Regions from separate parts of the Homo sapiens genome. Here region 2 is linked to region 1. Evidence: promoter capture Hi-C in human tissues and cell types (Jung and others, 2019). All regions are on one chromosome and are shown on one strand. Each heading gives the region's core, a stretch centred on a gene start or on the middle of the fragment in contact. The rest is flanking DNA. Distances are from core to core; before and after follow the strand shown.

Region 1 (2,700 bases), core at 29-2,528:
TCCTTTACAAAATCAGAATCCAGAAAGGGCAGGACACCGTCTCATTTGTCTTCGTGTCCCCAGCACCCCGGTAAGCCAGGCATAGGTAGACTTTTTTTTTTTTTTTTTTTTGAGACAGAGTCTTACTCTGTCACCCAGGCTAGAGTGCAGTGGTGCGATCTCCACTCACTGCAACCTCTGCCTCCTGGGTTCAAGCAATTCTTCTGCCTCAGCCTCTTGAGTAGTTGGAATTACAGGCATGCACCACCACACCCGGCTAATTTTTGTATTTTTAGTAGAGAGGGGTTTTCACCATGTTGGCCAGGCTGGTCTCGAACTCCCAACCTCAGGTGATCTGCTGCCTTGGCCTCCCAAAGTGCTGGGATTACAGGCGTGAGCCACTGCGCCCGGTCATATGTAGACATTTGATAAATACGTTGAATGAAAGGAAACCAACTCTCCATTCTCCCCCACCCTCCCATATAATGGGACAGGAGAAAATAAGATTTATTTGAGAGGCTGCAAATGACAGGATTAGGGAGTGGTTGGAGATATCAGGAATCCGTCTAGCTACAGGTGAGATCAGGTTTTGTTTTTTTTGAGACGGAGTCTCGCCCTGTCGCCCAGGCAGGAGTGAGTGCAATGGCGCGATCTCGGCCCACTGCAACCTCCCACTCCCGGGTTCAAGCGATTCTCCTGCCTCAGCCTCCCGAGTAGGGGGTTACAGGCGCGCCACCACGCCCGGCTAATTTTTTGTATTTTTAGTAGAGACGGGGTTTCACCGTGTTAGCCAGGATTGTCTCCATCTCCTGACCTCGTGATCCGCCCCCGTCGGCCTCCCAAAGTGCTGGGATTACAGGCGTGAGCCACCGCGCCCGGCAGAGATCAGGTTCTTAAGGGAAGTCCGGAGAAATGGGGTTTTTAAAAAACCCGAGTCCAGGCTATCTGTTTGGAGGGGTTGGGAGGCTTGGAGCTGGACCAATAACTTCTTAGGTCTTGCTTTAAGGAGTGAAGATTCTCTGTAGCGACCCTCATACCTGGGCAGTGGGAGCGGGCAGAATCCTTCTTTCTTCTCTTCTCTACACCCCCTCACTCCACCCCCACCCTTCCCCGCCGCCCGTAAACCTTAGCTTTCCCCTTTCCAACAGAGGTTTCCAGCTGTTGATGCCTGGATGGACCCGGCTGCAGGGAGGAGGAGGAAACTCTCTGTCCCTCCCTTCTTCTGCAAGTCCCCACCCTCCCTCCCTCCTCCCCCTGCGCGCTCTCGGTCTCCCTCCCTCTTTCTCCTCTAGGCTGTCCAGTCGCCTCGCAGCAGCGAGCCGCGAGCGCCCTTCTCCAGTCCCGGCTTGGAACTGAACTGTGTGAGCACGGGTCCTGGAACCCGGGCCCAGAACCGGCGAGCCCAGGTCTGAGCCCAGAGCTCAGCGGTCAGCCTCGTAGGCCCTGACTCGGAATCGAGCCGAGGCGCTGAGGTTGGAGCCGGAGAGCGTGAGAGCCGAAGAGCAGGGAGGGCGGGCCGGCTGCGCGTCCGACGAGTCGCAGAGCAGGACCGCGGAAGGCAGGGAGACGGCCGCAAGCCCAGGGCAGAGGGCAGAGGGCAGAGAGCGGCCTGGCTCGGCGGAGAGGGCGCCGCCCGGCCGGAACCAAGCTCGCCGCCCGGGACGGCGGGCCCCGTGGGGCGCGGACCCAGGGTGGCCGTGGGTCCGCAGCGACTCCCCGGCCGACGGCGGGGGGCGTGCCCCCTCCCAGCCCAGCCTCCCCAACCCGGCCCGCCCGCCGCGTCGCGGGGGCATGTGAGCGGGAAGCCTAGGCTGCCAGCCGCGAGGACCGCACGGAGGAGGAGCAGGAGCGCGGAGCCGCGAGCCCCGAGCCCCGAGCCCGGCGCCTGGCTGAGTAGTAAGTGCACCCCTCCCCGCCATGATCGCGCCGTCGCGCCCATTTCCCCAGCTCTCTGAAGTTTGACACTTGCGCCCCTACGTTTCTGGGCACCCACCGGCTCTCTTCCCTGCGAGTTTCCACCCTGTGCAAAGTTTTTCGAGGAGAGACGGACCCTCACCTACCCCCAACAACGCTGGGCAGTGGCGGCTCCTCCCTGGCCGACTTGGGTCCTTGTGGAGAGGGATGGCAGCCTCTAAGGCAGTGCGTGGCTGTGTGTGTGTTTGTGTGTGTGTGTGTGTGTGTGTGTACGCGCGCGCGCGCGCGCGTTCACCACGCGGGTCGAGCTTAGGGTGCACCCCCAACCCGCTCCTCGCCGACCGCAGAGGACTAGGTCTTTCTCATCAGCCCGACTATGCGCCTAGTTTAAGGATTTCTCAGCGGGAAGCCGAAGCGACCTGCGCGCGTCCTGCGTGGGGCTCAGGTGCCTGCGACGAGGCGCAGAGCTCCTCCACCATGGTTGCGTGGGGTGCTGGGGGACAGACGCGCTCCCCTTGCCACGGTTTCAGGGTCGTTCCCCAGCGGACCAGACCAGCGCGGCATCCTGTTTGTTTTCTGCTCCGGCTGCTCCTGTCCCACCCCCACCCCCACCGCAGGCTGCTTCTTGCTACCCCCACCTCCCGCCCTGGGATATCGTAGGTGAGCCTTTTCATCCCGATTCCGCTGCAAACGCTGATCGCGCCTAGGGGTAGGGAGATGCGGAGCGGGTAGTCGTTCAGTTCCCAGCGGCTCGCCATTGTTTTCCCACCCCGCGCGTTCCGTACGTAAACACACACGCACACACAA
Region 2 (2,700 bases), core at 85-2,584, 46 kb before region 1:
TGGGGAAGGTGCTGGGAAGGGGAGCCAGGCGTCACTGCCCCACTGCTACAATTAGCTGAGCCTTTCATTCTCCCTCTACAAAGAGGAGAGAGAAAATCAAAGGGAGATAAAAGTGAATGTCCCACAAAGGACATCGAGATGAGGGGGAAGGAAGGGAGGGTGGTGGGAGTGAGAGGCAGAGGCAGAGAGAACGCCCTGCGGCCCAAACAAAAGCCTAAAACCAGCGGATCCCAAGCATCAGACGGTAGAGACATAAGGACAGGAAGAGACTGGGCCGCGTGGGGATCGGGCAGCCCATCAGCCAAGGAGGAGAGGGAATGAAGAAAGATAAAACGCCTATGTGAATGGCCAGGGAAGAGGGTGGACAGGGACCCCGGATGGAGTGAGGACAAAAGCATGAAAAGACAAGATCGCCACCATCCCGTGAGCCACTCCACCGGGGCAAAACAAAGAGGAGCTGGAGACAAAGGCAGAGGGAGGAAGGTGGAGAGGGAACAAACTGGTCCTGCATTGGCGACAGGGCTGTCAGCGTGGGGCTTAGCAGTACATTCTCCAGAGTGGTCAGCTTAGGCTCTGGTGGGAAGAGGTAATCGGGGTACTGGCCTATATTTACTGAAAGATTAAATGAAAGAAATCCTACCTGATTAGGTTTCTTGTTTTTGAACTCTATAGCAGTGGAATTTAAGAAATGAACAAAACAAATACAAGGTAGTCTTGAGCCTTCCAACACGTGTGAATTTTGTGTCTGGCTTCTTTTCTGGACATTATGTAGAGTGTAGTGCAGCTAGGTCATTGTGATTGCTGTGTAGTATTCCATTGTGTGAATATGCTACCATTTGTTTTCCTATTCTTCTATCTGGTGGAGGATTTTAATTCAGGTCCACGATCTCTTATCTGAAACCTTAGGGCTAGATGTGTTTCAGAATTTTAGTAAGGTAAGATGCACATACCCTGTATTACACAACTCCCAGAGCAAGCTCTGTGGCAGTTCCCTCAAATCAAGCACATTAATATTTCTGCAAGGAAATGAATGAAGATTCACCCTATAAATAGCTTCACCTCAGTTCAGGTCAGGTTTTGCTGCCAAATAAGTTCAGGCTAGATCAGGTTATGCCATCAAGTAAGAGATGACAGAGTTTTGGTTTTCATGGCTTTTTGGATTTCTGAATTGAGAGTTAGGAATTGTGGACCTGTATTTTACTAGTTCCCAATAACATTTGCTTTGGAAATACAGGCAGAAGATGAATTGGATAGTACCTCATGGACATCAGCAAAAATCAGAAGTCAGAAATAATGGCCCCAAGGTGTTTAAGCAGTGAGATGTTGCCTAGAAGGGCTCTGGAGTTGGTTAAAGGGGGTTTCAAACTCTGCCTTTGTGTGGGAGACCAGGAAGACCCCTGCAGGCTGCTGGCCGCTCAGGTTCCATTGCCTGGGGCTATTTGAACATTGTAAACCTTTGTTTTTATAACCTCAGCTTCTAATCTCATAAATTGTTGATTGTATTTTTTTGTATAATTTTAAAAGCTTATTTATCTCTTTTCTCCTTTTCATCTTTGAGTCCTCTAGTTCTGTTTTACTTATCTTGATCATTCCTTATCTCTATTTTGTTCTTTATGATTTTATATGACATTCTTTCATCTCATCTTATCTTCTCGCTTTTACTGTTATTGTGCTGTTTTTTTGTGACTGGCGAAAAACTCCTGGGGTTTGGAGAAGCAGACAGTGGTAATTTGTCCCCTGACCTCCCTGGGAGCCAGATTGCTCTGTACTTGGGAACGTTTCCTTCCTTAGGGAGATTTCTGTGTGGTGGGGAGCCCCTCAACATTTAATCTCAAGCCTTGACCAAGCATTGCTCCTGGGACTTTTGAAGCCTTGGTCTCAAAGCAGGAAGCTGTTACAGGTGATGGGGATTTAATTCTGGGCAAATATTTCTTTGTTCTGGAAGACCAGACCCTGGGCCTCAATGACCCAGCATAGATAGCCTTTCCTGGCCCACATATGGGTGGGCCTTAAGAGGCCCACGTCAGCCTCTTAAGAGCTCAGGAGTGCTCTATGGTGAGGATGCAACAACATGTACCAGTTAATCTTTCCCCTGGTGATAGCAGCTTCTTTTCCATAGGGAGGTAGAGGGTGTTGTGCCTGTAAATCACAGAGCAACGAGTGAGGATTTGGCCCAGTTCTAGCCATTGCTAGATGGGGCACAGAGAGGAAGCTGCCAGCAGGATAGCAAGGCATAATATTCTTCCCAGCTTGGCAGAGGTGTCCTTTATTATATTTATTTATTTATTTATTTTGAGACAGAGTTTCGCTCTTGTTGCCCAGGCTGGAGTGTGACGGCGCAATCTCAGCTCACCGCAATGTCCGCCTCCCAGGTTCAAGCGATTCTCCTGCCTCAGCCTCCTGAGTAGCTGGGATTACAGGTATGTGCCACCATGCCCAGCTAATTTTTGTGTTTTTAGTGGAGACAAGGTTTATCCATGTTGGTCAGGCTGGCCTTGAACTCCTGACCTCAGGTGATCCACCCGCCTCAGCCTCCCAAAGTGCTGGGATTATAGGCGTGAATCACCGCACCTGGCCTGAGCCACCGCTCCTGGCCAGAGGTGCCCTTTACAGCCAGACTAAGAGGACCTTAGACACACCCAGGGGCATGCTTTCGTCTCCTCATGAGGCTATGCCAGGTTGAAGAACCCCGACCTTGGG

Evidence for each region. Contacts are between HindIII fragments. The study calls those that stand out against the background at their distance.
Region 2: a contact is called between a fragment that was not itself captured here and the fragment with the promoter of SOX13 in region 1, in 1 of the 25 tissues and cell types used here (psoas muscle).

What each region holds. Positions count from the first base shown.
Region 1 is chr1:204,071,837-204,074,536 of GRCh38, forward strand. It overlaps SOX13 (SRY-box transcription factor 13), which reads left to right and starts at 1,279. Exons shown (of 14, transcript NM_005686.3): 1 at 1,279-1,875. RefSeq lists an enhancer at 1,958-2,650. The HindIII fragment of the contact is 26,498 bases long and covers 1-2,700 here.
Region 2 is chr1:204,026,143-204,028,842 of GRCh38, forward strand. No RefSeq gene overlaps it. Among named protein-coding and RNA genes, the nearest start is that of LINC00303, 14 kb to the right of the region's middle. RefSeq lists an enhancer at 309-858. The HindIII fragment of the contact is 5,174 bases long and covers 1-2,700 here.